2 separate regions of the Homo sapiens genome follow, and region 1 is linked to region 2. Evidence: promoter capture Hi-C in human tissues and cell types (Jung and others, 2019). All regions are on one chromosome and are shown on one strand. Each heading gives the region's core, a stretch centred on a gene start or on the middle of the fragment in contact. The rest is flanking DNA. Distances are from core to core; before and after follow the strand shown. Region 1 overlaps NPL (N-acetylneuraminate pyruvate lyase). Region 2 holds the start of TEDDM1 (transmembrane epididymal protein 1).

The links. Contacts are between HindIII fragments. The study calls those that stand out against the background at their distance.
Region 1: a fragment that was not itself captured here is called in contact with the fragment with the promoter of TEDDM1 in region 2 in 1 of the 25 tissues and cell types used here (spleen).

The regions. Positions count from the first base shown.
Region 1 is chr1:182,821,783-182,828,864 of GRCh38, reverse strand. NPL (N-acetylneuraminate pyruvate lyase) reads right to left here. Exons shown (of 13, transcript NM_030769.3): 11 at 6,666-6,750; 12 at 3,045-3,084; 13 at 1-141. Among named protein-coding and RNA genes, the nearest start is that of DHX9, 14 kb to the left of the region's middle. The HindIII fragment of the contact is 3,812 bases long and covers 2,697-6,508 here.
Region 2 is chr1:182,397,479-182,404,853 of GRCh38, reverse strand. It overlaps TEDDM1 (transmembrane epididymal protein 1), which reads left to right and starts at 4,187. Exons shown (of 1, transcript NM_172000.4): 1 at 4,187-6,737. The coding sequence starts at 4,369. The coding sequence ends at 5,190. RefSeq lists a silencer at 525-706. The HindIII fragment of the contact is 14,950 bases long and covers 1-7,375 here.

The DNA.
Region 1 (7,082 bases), core at 3,353-5,852, 420 kb before region 2:
AAAGGAAATCCAGGCTCTTCAGTTTAGCTTCAGCACTATCAGTAAACTCCCTGGAGGCTTTCTGCAGTGGAAGCCGGGGTGGGCCCATTGGAATCCCAGAGACCAGAGTCATGATGGCTTTGGTCTGTGACACTCCAAAACCTAGACGGGAAAAACAAATGAGGAAACATGACTGGTACCGTCTATCTCTCCACAAAAATCCCAAAGAAGGAGATCATATGCTAACAGCAACTACTACAACAGGGTAAGATTAAAACAAAAGATGGGAACATTTCTAGTCAATATGACAGATGAGCAATCATTCGAAATCCCTCTTCCTGCTTCAAACACAGAACGCTGGAAAATTTTAAAAGTTGATCACAGTAAAAGAAAACAAAGACTCAAGGTTAATCTTAAACCCAAGAAGGAGAAGCCAAAGGTGTCAGGAATAAAGAGGTCAGAAGGGTGAGGAGAAGCTGATGCCAAACAGCCCTTGAGGATAATCTGATTTAGGAATATACTATTGTTGATCAAAGGAGGTAGGACTTTATTGCCAGCATGAAATTTAGTTTAAGCTTATTTAGGAAGTCCCTAAGAAATGCAGTACTTAAGGTGGCTTATGACTCAACGCTGCTGTTTTCATGCTGGTGTTATACGGCTGGGATGGGAATGGAAAATGAAGCCTTAGATCTATGCATGGTGAGAAGCTGGAATTAAACTACCTATGTAAAACTGGTAGTCAGCCTTCTGTAAAAAGCAATAGAAAAAAACCCAGCCCACTGGTCTGGGGATAAAGAAGAAAGCTTGACTTCTACTAGGCTTGTGGATGGAAACAGATCTCATGAAAGAAATCTCAAGCCTGAGCCAAAGGTGAATGGTGGATCTCAATGTATGTCACACACTTAGTATAGGTACTATACTAAAAAATTAACCGAAAGACTGGTTAGAACTGGTGGAACTACAGTGTCCTAGCAGAGGCAAATGTAAACTCACTTGATAGGGCACCTTACAACCTAATGTTCAATGGGTTACCCAGAAAACAACAGTCTCTGAACATGAGCTCAAAGCTAAAAATTACAAAACCCATGAGGAAAAGCAGCAGCAGGAGAACCAGCACATTCAAAAATGACAAAACTTACATCCTGAGAGTAGATGACAGAAAATTCTGAAAGAGACTTCTCAGAGATAAAAGAAGGAATAGAAGCCATAGGCTAAGAGAAGTAAAGAACAGTAGAGTATAAAACAACAAGAAATACTGAAAAAAATATATATATTTAGGGAAATCAAACAGTAAAAACATAGCTAAAGAAAGAATTAGTGATTTTCAAGGTAGATCTAAGGAAATAATCCAGAATACAGCATAGAAAGATATGTTAAATGTTTTTTAAAATTGAGATACAGATTGAGAAAATCCAAAATACAACTAATAGACTTTCAGAATGAGAGATTTGAGTAAATGTAGTCAAAACATTCTTTACAGATAACAGAGAATTTTTTCAGAACTAAAGAAAGACAAAGCCTTCAGATTGGAGAGGCAAATGGAAGATCAGGTACACTGTTAATATGTAAAAAGCATAACTAATAATTATCCATCATAATCCCCAATCCCCATCTTCTAAAATGTCTGTAATTTGTTTTCTTAGCTGGCTATTGCGTTCAGATTCAAGATAGAAGAACTAACTTTCTTTTGCTAAGTTAACTTAGTTGCAGTAAAAACTGAGCATTGGGAGGGAAAATATTAGCATGATCGAATATACAGTAGGTCTCCCTTGTCTGCAGTTTCACTTTCCATGGTTTCAGTTACCTGTGGTCAACTGCAGTCCAAAAATAATAAGGTATTTTGAGAGACAGACAGAGAGACTGACCATAGTTATATAACTTTTATTGCAGTATATTGTTATAATTGTTCTATTTTATTATTAGTTACTGTTTATCTCTTACTATGCCTAATTTATAAATTAAACTTTACCATAGGTATGCATGTACAGGAAAAAACATAGTATATATAGGGTTTCGTATTATCTGCAATTTCAGGCATCCACTGGTCATCTTGGAACATATCCCCCTGAGATAAGGGGGGACTACTACACACATCAAGCTTTTAGTTTGTCTAAAATTTTAACAGTTCAATACCTATTTTAATGTATTTTAGGAACATAATAATTATCACACCAAACCCACAATTTTGTGAAACCATTGCTTAGAAAAATGGAACAATAATAGGTAGTTCATAGCACTGGCAGCACACAAATGTGCAAAAATCACGAAAGTGGAAAAACAAACAGAAACGTCCTTGAAGGAGTAAGAGAGTGGGTTGAGAACCCTGCAAGAATGAGGGGCATAACACAGAAGAGGTGCTTGGGGGAGAGGGAGGAGTTGTCAGAATTATGCAGGACTCTGACAGGGAGCAGGGAGGTCTACCAAAAATAAACTTAAAAATTTTCCTGCATTAACGCAGATTCAATTGGCCCAAGGGCCAATCTCTTGCAGAAGAGTGGATAGTGGCATTTGTCATTTGTTATAGAAGATTTAAGAGACTCTGGAGCGGTTTCTCTACTCAAATTCACTGTATTTCTCCCCACGACTGCTCCCCAATTTTACTTTGTCATATTATCCAAACCTCCATCCATTTAGGCTTACTTGTGTTAATAAACTCTGTTTAAATTGTAAATACTCTTGGGAGAGCTGTCAGTCATTCACAATTTAGTAAAATCTGTATTTAGACTGCCTTCCTCCAAGCACTTAGGCTGAAATCAACCTCAATGCAGTAGTAGAATTTTAATGAGCTGAAGCAAGTAAAGGGAGGGAGTGCTGATGGTTTAGGAGAGAAAGAATGGAAAATGGGGTAGGCATGTGCTAAAATGGAGAAGGTTGCCAAAGATTTTCCAACTAGGTTTACTTCACAGTTTTATATGGTTGGCCCCGAGGGTTAATAAGGGAAACAGAACTCTGCTTGCAACAGACCATTAAAAAGTGTTCTTGTTGAACCCTCAGAGAAAGTGATGGTATTCCATTTTCTTTACAGTCTCCAGCAGCAGACAAAGCAGAAGATGGGTGGCACTTACCTAGTTTGACAACAAAGTTGATAAATCTCTGGATACAAAACTAGAAAAGAACAACATATCTATAGTTAGTATTATTGAACTGTGTAAACAATGTAAATAATGTAGAAGTCAAATTACAGAAACCCTAAAAAGTCTGCACACCTTCATTTACTGAAGGTCTGTCAGAGTGGAGAAAAATAGCCAAGTGAAGATGGCTGGGATCCATCCAGGCTAAGGTAAGATCTTTTCATACATGTAGGCTTTACAAAATGGGCCCGTGCAGAAAAGAAGCTTCAATGATGGAATTCTACAAGAGAGTAAAGATGGGAATCACACCCCTTATCCATCTGGCTTACATAGGTAAACTTATCAGCTAGTGCAGTGGTTTTCAAACTCAGGTGCATATAAGCTCTGGGGCACCTTCCAGGATGCCTAAGGAGCACATGGCTAAGGCTAAGATTTATGGGAATCAATTTCTAGATCCTCAACTTCCATAAGTGCTGTTTTCTAAAATTGATCAGCATAAGAATCTGCATGAAATGGAGGTGCAGGTTGTTCTTTTCTGTTTCCCCTTGCACAGTCTTTTCTACTTTTGAAAAAAAATAAAGACAGCCTTCTATATCACTGCCTTGGGATACAAATCAAAATATCAGTATTGGTATTGATAAAGAGAGGGACAGTGATTCTTCTAATTAATAGGTAATAAGTCCTCTCAAAAATCAGAGGTTTTTCAATGATTTCCTTTCTACACTGCTACTCAGGTTTCAGCTGAAAATCATTAAAGCATTCTGTGATTTTGGCATATGACTCAAAAAATGTTCAAAGAACTGGGTGACACTGCTATAACAAAATTCCTTCCATTATTATCTAACTTACATGAACACAGTTTTGTAGCACTTACTTCTCTAAAAACAAAAATAGTATTGATGCTGAACCTCAACTTATCCTAGCATTAAGTAATATTCATCCACGGATTCCAGACAAACTGATTTTTTAAAAAAGAGCCTCATGCATCTTTTAATTTTTATTTTATTATTATGTTTTTGAGACAGAGTCTCGCTCTGTCACCCAGGCTGGAGTGCGGTGGCATGATCTCGCCTCACTGCAAGCTCTGCCTCCCAGGTTCATGCCATTCTCCTGCCTCACCCTCCCAAGTAGCTGGGACTACAGGCGCCCGCCACCACGCCCGGCTAATTTTTTGTATTTTTAGTAGAGACGGGGTTTTGCCACGTTAGCCATGATGGTCTCAATCTCCTGACCTCATGATCCGCCCACCTCAGCCTCCCAAAGTGCTGGGATTACAGGCGTGAGCCACCGTGCCCGGCCTTAGAACCTCATGCATCTTATTAAGAGATGCATTTTCAATAACATTTTATATTTAAAAGTATTTTTCAAAATGCTTAACATATTTGTTTTAACTGACTGTATACTAGAAATAAAATGTAGAATAAAATTTTAATACCCAGAGACTTACAAACATATATGTTCTACCCCATGAACAATATAGCACATTACATTTACTATCTTATATTTTGCTGCTTTTTTCCATTTAACATAGCATGTAGATCTTTCCAGGTCAGAATACATAAAGCTATCTCATTTTAAGAGCTATATATAATTCAATTGCATAATAAAATGTATTTAACCATTGCCTTATGGATGAATATTTGGGCTGTTTTTATCTTTTGCTGTTACAAACAAAGCTGCAAGGAATATCTTTGTACATGTGTAATTTCACTCATGTAAATATAACAGATGGCACTTAAGTACATTAAAGTGAATGAGATAAATTTAGCCCTAACTTTTTGTCTGCTTCTTCACTTGACTACAAGCTCTTTAAGAGCAGAAACCACCTTTACTGAAATTATGTACTGAGTAAATAAGACTCACTCACACGTGCTTTCTTAAGAAGAAACAGAGAATGTGGTAAAATAAGTTCCTTACCAACATTGTTTTCAATGGGATGATTTATTTGAAACAGAGAGTGGTAAACTAAGTTCCTTACCAACATTGTTTTCAATGGGATGATTTATTTAGAGTGGGACTAAGAGGGGAAAAAAGATGGAGACTAGATTAACCAATAAGAGAAGTCACTGAATGGAAGGGTCAGCATTATAGCTGCTTCAGTCTACTCCATCTATGATTTCCATGTTCTGCTCAGAACAGGTTAGAATTTTCAGAAATAACCTTTTCTAGGAAACTGGGCAGGGTGGAGAGAACCATCAATGCAAGGAGATGGCAGAGTCTGCACAATTCATTCTTCTCACCCTTATCTAAACCAAAGTCTTGTCGATGTTTAGTTTATTTGGCACAGCTTCCTAGATCCCTACCCTGTTCCTGTTCTTAGCTTCACTTGGTCTGAGGACAAAGGCGAATATTACATATGGTATTTAAACTTTAAGGAGGAAGTAGATTTATGATGGCTCAACTTTGAGGCCTACGGGTAGGGAATAAACCACTCTGGATTCTGCTTCTTCATGTTGTCTTTGGGTTGGGGCTGCAGGTCACTTCCTTTAACCCCCAGGATACTTTGTACTTCTGATCTGTAATCTCTGATTACCCTGATGGCAGCCTGTCCTGTTCAGAAAGATCCCACAGCCAAGCTTTATTAGGACCAACCATTTGCTCCAATCTTGCTTCTGTCTTTCCATTCCCACTTATTTTCTTGGGATACTCCTCTCAACCACTTATACTATCCTGAAAATCCTCACGCCTCTCAGACCCCAAAAGTCTTGCTCTCATATCCACCCTACTTTCTTCCAATTCATTCCATTTACACTTTAGAACCATGGGTTAGAACCAGATGTTAGCTGGGCATGGTGGCGCATGCCTGTAGTCCCAGCTACTCAGGAGGCTGAGGCGGGAGGACTGCTTGAGCCCAGGAGGATTCAAGGCTGCAGTGAGCTATGATCACATCGCTGCACTCCAGCCTGGGCAACAGAGCAAGACCCTATCTCTAAATAAAAGACAACCAGTTGTTGAGACTGTTCCACCCTTCACTGAGGCTCTTCTTTCCCTGATGGCTAGGCTGTCCTCCATGGAACATTCACAGCAGCCACTATGTCCTCTGGGGTCTTCCGTGCAACATATCAGCTTCTGCTGGTTTTTCCTTCCTGTCTCAAATCCTGTATCTACTTTGGATCACCCACTAGGCTCTTATTTCCTTCCTGGTGGATGTTCCTAGTTCTCAGCACATTTCCAGGGTGGACAAGACTGACCTGCCCTGACTTTGAATGAAGCCTTCCCCATTTTAGGTTACCATCTTCATAGCTTCCTCATATTCTGTGATAACTCTGATGTGATGTCCTCAAGGGGACAGCCTGTGGTCATTTTCCCAGAAATCTATGACCATTTTATTATAGTCACAAAAGTACTTTGAAGATAGAGTAAAAATAAGATCCTTTCTAGGAGGAAGAGAGGAGCCATCCCTGTATGGGTCCTGTCCTGATTAGACATGTCGGGAACACAGACAATGGGGACAGCTTTGGTTTTAAACAAGAAAAAGTACAAAACAGAAGAAAGGTAAAGAAAGAAGTGGCTGGGCAATTTTAATGAGGGCAGGCATGGTAGAGAGAAGAAAAAGAATCCTCAAGTGGGGAAGAAAAAAGGCTGTGATTTATGGGAAGAGAAGAAAACGTTTACCTGATAGTTCAGGGCTAAAGAGAAGTCCTTTTGTTCAAAAGCCTCCAACATCTGGTTTGTCTTTTTTCCCAGGTAGTTATAGGTACTGGCAAGACAATAACAAATACTGCAGGTTCAATAACTCAACAGGAAAGGTCCAGATCTTCAAATCCCTCTGCTGTTTAAAAGGGAAAAAATACACCTAGTCCTCCTAAAGTCTGTTTTTGAATCCTAATCTATTAGGGGACAAGACTGTCTTCAGTTCTGAGTTTTCCAGCAATACTGAGCAGTACTGCAGAGAAGGAAGACAGGCAAAAGGGGATAAAGGAAGAAAATCAGAAAAAAGATAAAAAAGATGGAGGTGTATTTGTTAGGAAGCGACTGAGGCCAGCTCTTGCCCTAGGGTACACACAGGTGCAATGCTAGACAAGAACTGTG
Region 2 (7,375 bases), core at 2,938-5,437:
TGATGAACTTCCTCTCCCCTAAGCACACTTATCACCCTCAGAGAAATTCCTATTCCATGTACCCTCTGTAATAAACCCAGAAATATTTGTGTGCCTAGGGATGCCTCACATTCCCTGTACCTTGTTCTCCACACCCTCTAAATGAAGACTTTCACATATTTTGGAAATTTGCCTCTTACCAAATATATGGCATCTTAGTCCATTTCTTGTTGCTTGTAACAGAATACCTGAAACTGAAAAAGAATTTATTTCTTATAGTTGTGGAGACTGGGAAGGCCAACAACAAGGGTCTACATCTGCTGAGTGTCTTCTTGTTGGTGAGGACTCCCTGAAGAGTCCTGAGACAGCACAGGGCATCAAATAATGAGGGAGGTCAGGTCACACGTCCTCTTCTTTTTTTTTTTTTTTGAGACAGAGTCTCACTCTGTCACCCAGACTGGAGTGCAGTGGCACAATCTCGGCTCACTGCAACCTCTGCCTCCCAGGTTCAGGTGATACTCCTGCCTCAGCCTCCCAAGTAGCTGGGACTACAGGCGTGTGCCACCATGCCCGGCTAATTTTTTGTATTTTTAGTAGAGACAGGCTTCACTATGTTGGCCAGGCTGGTCTCGAACTCTGGACCTCAAGTGATCACCCGCCTCAGCCTCCCAAAGTGCTGGGATTACAGGTATGAGCCACCACACCTGACCACCCACTATGTTTCTTATAGGGGTTATGGTTTCAGGTCTTACATTTCAGTTTTTAATCTATTTTGAGTTAATTTTTGTATATGGTATAAGATGAGGGTCCAATTTCATTTTTTTACATGTGAACTTCCAGTTTTCCCTAAGACATTTATTGAAAAGACTATCCTTTCCCCATTGAGTATTCTTAGTTCTCTTGTTGAAGATCAGTTGAACATATATGCATAGGTTTAATTTCTGGGCTCTCTATTCTGTTCCATTGGTCTATGTGTCTGTTTTTATGTCAGACATAAAATGTTTTGATTACTATAGTGTTGGAATATAATTTGAAATCAGAAGTGTGATGCCTCCAACGTGTTCTTCTTTCTCAAGATTGATTTGTCTATTTGGGATATTTTGTGTTTCCATTTGAATTTTAGAATTACTTATTCTACTTCAGTGAAAAATGCCATTGGAATTTTGAGAGAGATTGTATAGAATCTATAGATTGGTTTGAGTGGTATGGACATATTAAACATTTTAATTCTTCCAATCCATGAGTATGGGATATTTTTCCATTTATTTGTGTCTTCTTCTATTTCTTTCTTCAATGTTTTATAATTTTCAGCATACAGATCTTTCGCCTTCTTGGTTAAATGTAGTCCCAACTCAAAACAACAAAACAAATAACCCAGTTTAAAAATGAGTAAAGAACCTGCATTTCTGGACATTTTTCCAAAGAAGACATATAAATGGCCAGTGGGTATGTTAAAATGTGCTCAACATCACCAATCACAGAAAAATGCAAACAAAAATTACAAGGAGATATCACTTCACATCTTAGAAGAGCTATAATAAAAAAGACACAAGATAACGAGTATTTCTGAAGATGTGGAGAGAAGGTAATCCTTGTACAATATGGTGGAAATGTAAATTGGTTCAGCCATTATGAAAAACAGTATGGAAGTTTCTCAAAAAATTAAAAAAGGACTATCATATGATCCAGCAATCCCACTCCTTGGTATATATCCAAATTAAATGAAATCAGTATCTCAAAGAGATATCTGCACTCTTATGTTACAATAATCAAGATACAGAAACAACCTAAGTTGGGGCCAGGTATGGTGGCTCATGCCTGTAATCACAGTACTTTGGGAGGCTGAGGCGGGTGGATCACTTGAGCCCAGATGGATCCACCAACAGATGGATAAGTAAAGAAACATATATATAATGGTATATTATTCAGCCTTAAAAAAGAAGGAGGTCCTGCTGTTTGCAACAATATGGATGAACCTCAGCTGGGCATGGTGGCTCATGGCTGTAATCCCAGCACTTTGAGAGGCCAAGGTGGGTGGATCGCCTGAGGTCAGGAGTTCGAGACCGGCCTGACCAACATGGTGAAACCCCATCTCTACTAAAAATATAGAAAATTTAAGCGGTGTGGTGGCATGCACCTGTAGTCCCGACTATTCGGGAGGCTGAGTCCGGAGAATTGCTTGAACCCAGCAGGCAGAGGTTGCAGTGAGCTGAGATCGTGCCACTGCACTCCAGCCTGGGCAACAGAGACAGACTCAGTCTCAAAACAAAAAACAAACAAACAAAAAATGTGGTACACTTTAAATACAGTAGTCCTCCCTTACCTGCAGTTTCATGTTCTTAGGTTTCAGTTACTCACAGTTAACTGCAGTCTGAAAATATTATAGTATTTTGAGAGAGAGAGAGAGAAATTATATTCACACTTTTATTTCAGCATCATTTTATAATTGTTCTATTTTATTTTGAGTTATTATTGCTAATCTCTTGCTGTGCCTAATTTGTAAACTAAACTTTATTATAGGTATGTATACATGTATGGGGAAACCAGTATATGTAGGGTTCAGTACTAACCTATCCCAGGTTTCAGGCATCCACTGGGAGTCTTAGAAAGTATCACCCATGGATAAGGAGGGGCTATATAGACATTAATTTTTATAAAAAAAATAAATGGGGGCTGCTTTGCCTATAGAGTAGCCATTCTTTTATTCCTTTTTTTCTTAATAAATGTGCTTTCATTTTAAAAAATAAAAAATAATGAATAAATAAATAAATGGGGCCAGGTACGGTGGCTCACGCCTGTAATCCCAGTACTTTGGGAGGCTGAGGTGGGTGGATCACTTGAGCCCAGGAGTTTGAGACCCAGCATGGACAATGTAGTGAGACCTCATCTCTACAAAAAATAGCTGGATGTGGTGGCTCATGTCTGTTGTCCCAGCTACTCAGCAGCTGAGGCAGGAGGATTGATTGAGCTCAGGAGGTTGAGGCTGCAGTGAGCCGTCATCAAGCCACTGCACTGCAACCTGGGCAACAAAGCGAGACACTGTCTAAAAATAAAAATAAAAATAGAAATAAAAATAAATAAATGAAGACTCTTGCCTTGGATGCAACCCCTCATATGCAGCTGGCTGCTACCTAGTGCTTAGAACTCTTTCTGCCTATATGTGTTAGACACATAGTAAATGATAATTAAAGAGAGAATAAAGTTGAGGACCTAATTCACATTAAAATATAAGCAGTTTGTTGGATCTACTTATCTCAACATATCTGCATTTTAATAAAAAATTATACCTTAACATTCCAAAATTGATCTCAAAAGGTGACATTTTACATTCATCTACTGTTCTTTGGAAAGATAATTTGGGGCAATTGAGCTGCTTTCTTTGTGATCCCCAAAAACTGTTACAGAAGAATGAAGAGGACAAGAGCTCAGTATCTATATATATGAGCACACATCCAAACGTTTATAAACTTTTATGTCTAGGAAGAATGTATTTGCTCTCAGTATATGACCCAACATATGAGTAAGGAGTCTTTTTTTTTTTTGAGACAGTCTCGCTCTGTCACCCAGGCTGGAGTGTAGTGAGATGATCCTGGCCCACTGCAACATCCGCCTCCCGGGTTCAAGTAATTCTCCTGCCTCAGCCTTCCAAGTGGCTGGGATTACAGGCACTCTTTACCATGCCCAGCTAGTTTTTGTATTTTTAGTGGAGATGGGATTTCACCATGTTGGCCAGGCTGATCTCGAACTCCTGACCTCGAGATCTGCCTTGGCCTCCCAAAGTGCTGGGATTACAGGCTTGAGCCACCATGCCTGTCCGAGTAAGGAGTCTTAAAGGATGCATTAAGGTTTGTGAGTAACCCGGGTCTTCTCTGGATAATCTCCGTGCTCAGGCACCTCTCTTTTTCTACTCCGAGCATTGAACAGGGGCAGAAGGAAGCAAGCCATGAGAGAGAGGGACAAGTGTAACCAGAAGGTCCTCAAGGGTCCAAAAGCAGAGCTCCTGAGAGCACAAATTCCCACAGGTGCATACTAAAAAATATTTATGTTTCTACTTTGGCAGAACTCAATTAGTTCCCAGTGTACTGGAATGAAATGGAACAATGAGACCCACCTCACTAAAAACCTAGGCTCCTGTCCAGAACTTTCCAGTCTGTGAGAGAGCAGTGGGCAGAAGGAGATGATAAAAGTAGGTAGAACTTAGCTCTGTATATATAGGCCCAGAACTCGAGAGGCCTGTGAGGGAGAGGAGAGCAGAGAGGTCCTGAGTATTGCTCTTCACGCTTCAGTCGGACAGGCCTGTATTCCATGGGAAAGTCCATTGGCCATTTTTAACTGGGGCTATTTCTTTTCTCTTATGGACTATATCAGGCCACAGTGGTCTCCAAGGGCATGATACTCAAAGGTTGTCTCCTGTATCCTTTGTGCTCTCCCAGGAATAAGCAAAGATGTGCCAGGCTGTGGAAAATAGCCTATGGAGGATTACTAAAGATAGTGACTGGCTCCCTCTTAACATTTTATGTGGTTCTCTGTCTTGATGGCGGGATGGTGCTCATGAGGAAGCAAGTGCCATCAAGGTTCATGTACCCCAAAGAGTGGCAGCACCTCACCATGTTCATCCTCCTCACTCTTAATGGCTGTGTGGACTTCATGAGCAAGAATGTGCTGCCTCAGAGGTGTGTGGGCCTAGAAAAAGGTACCCTGGTCCTGATCATCTACGAGCTCCTGCTGCTGATGGTGTCACATGTTAAAGATTCAGAAGGGGTGGAGCTGCACGTTTATTCTCTGCTCATCTTGGTGGTGTTCCTGCTGTTGCTGGTGTTGACTGCAGAGCTGTGGGCTCCCAACATGTGTCATCTCCAGCTGATGGAGACCTTTCTGATTCTGATGATGGGCTCCTGGCTGATGCAGGCAGGCTTTATTCTATACAGACCCGTCTCTGGCTACCCATGGCAGGACGATGACATCAGTGACATCATGTTTGTCACCACCTTCTTCTGCTGGCATGTGATGATCAATGCCTCATTCCTGTTGGGAATCTATGGCTTCTCTTCCTTTTGGTATCATTGTTTCAGACCCAGCTTGAAGCTGACTGGGCCCAAAGAAGCTCCATATTATGCAAGCACTCCAGGACCCCTCTACAAGTTGCTACAGGAAGTGGAGCAGTCAGAGAAAGAGGACCAGGCTCTCCTCCTTCCAAAGAGCTCCCCCTGAGACAGGGCCTACAGTGGCTGGCACATCGTCCACCTCATCTTCCTCCTGTTGGCTCCTCAGCCACGAGCATGGTACCCTCCTTGGTAAAGGTAATGGCCTTGAAGGCTAGCAGTTGGTCCCGTCTGCTGGTTCATTTTCTTTTCTTCTCTTTTCTTTTTTTTTTTTTTTGAGACAGAGTCTCGCTCTGTTGCCCAGCCTGGAGTGCAATGGCACAATCTCAGCTCAGTGCAACCTCCGCCTCCCGAGTTCAAGCGATTCTCCTGCCTCAGCCTCCCGAGTAGCTGCAATTACAGGAGCCTGCCACCATGCCCGTGCTGGTGCATTTTCTGTCCCTGAGCCTCTAATTACTGAGAAGATAAGGGGAGAGGGATTGAGAAAGAGACGCTGATGGGATTTGCGGGAGGGAGGGAAAAGGACGAGGAGAACACTTCTTCTTAGTGTGCAAGAAAAGCCACTGGGGGAAGAGAATGCAACAAAAGGAAGAGCTGTGAAGGGAGGAGAACAGAGTCTAGCAGTTATGCTGTCATTAGCGTCATCAGGCACAAGGGATTGCCTTTTACCTGAGGGAATAAAGACTTCTCACAACTCAAAACTGGACCCATTCAAATCTCATCTTGATAAAGAAAAGTGGGTACTTTACGTGCTCACCAAAGTGGTGCCACCATGTGGAAATAGCATGATAGAATTTATAATTAATTCATACAGGCTGAAATTATGCTCGCTTTGCCTCCTTCTCTCTCCGCAGCTTTCAAGAATTGGCTTCATTTCAAACTTTACATATAAAGTGAGACTTTTTAAATACTTAATAACATTTCAAATTTCCATAATTTAAATTTGTATAGAATTCAACTGCTATAGCATTTTTATAGCATTCAAATGCTTGGTACTTCCCTGACTTCTCATTTTATTACTCTTATTCTAGCCCAAACTTTCCTTTTCACCATGACCACCCTTGCACATGCAATTTAGCAGATACCATTCTTGGGTCTTTGCAAATTTCTTTTCCTTGCAAATCACAGCCAGTCATCCTACAGTCACATATTTACCATGTTATTCGATTCCCAGAATAAACCTACATCCACCCCCACACCGCACCAAGTATCCCCAAGGTGGCCTTCTCCAGAACTCTTACTGATTCCCTTGTTTTGGAACTCTTGGGCACTTACATTAAATCTGCTTTGTTAGTTTGCTCATACAGGTGACCCACTTTCTTTTATACTGCTGCTGAAATCATTTTCTTTCAGAAGGTTCTTCCTCACCCACTAAAGTACAGGCTCCTAAAGGGAAAAGACTTTGCCTTATCCAAGTTACCAAATTTCCTATGTATACTCCAGCTATGGATCATGGTTATGTTTAATAAAGCCTTCTTTGCTTCCAGAGTCTTCCCTAATCCTGTTTCTTCTAAATGTATTGCTGGACAGGTTGGAGGTTTTGTGAATCTCTCTGGGTGACAACAACAGTCCTGAACACTGAGTCACTGCCTTAGTAATGCACCCACTCTCTTCCTTGTTTTGGGGTATAATAAAATCCAGTAACTTGTTTCTGAAGTTGACTCTGTTATTGTTTTTAATCCTCACAAATGTTTCTATAAGGAGTCTCTAGAAAACTGAGACTCCAGCAGGTTGACTTGCCCAAGTCTCACAGTTGGTATGAGGCAACACAGGAATTTAAGTGCAGGTGTGTCTGACGCAAGTGTGACTGTGTCCTCTGGGCCACAGTGACTTTGCTAATGGCAATGGAGAAACAAGTTATCTCAAAATGAAAAAAATGAAATTGTGAAAGAAAGAAGAAAGACGGCTGGGCACTGTGGCTCACGCCTATAATCCCAGCACTTTGCGAGGCCAAGGCGGGCGGATCCCTTGAGGTCAGGAGTTCGAGACCAGCTTGGTCAACATGGTGAAACCCTGTCTCTACTAAATATACAAAAATTAGCTAGGTGTGGTGGCCCACACCTATAATCCCAGATACTTGGGAGGCTAAGGCAGGAGAATCACTTGAACCTGGGAGGCGGAGGTTGCAGTGAGCTGAGATTGCACTACTGCACCCTAGCCTGGGTGACAGAGTGAGACTATGTCTTAAAAAAAAAAGAAAAAAGAAAAGAAGGAAGGAAAGAAAGAAAGAAAGAAAGAAAGAAAGAAAGAAAGAAAGAAAGAAAGAAAGAAAGAAAAGAAAACAAGCCAGAAAG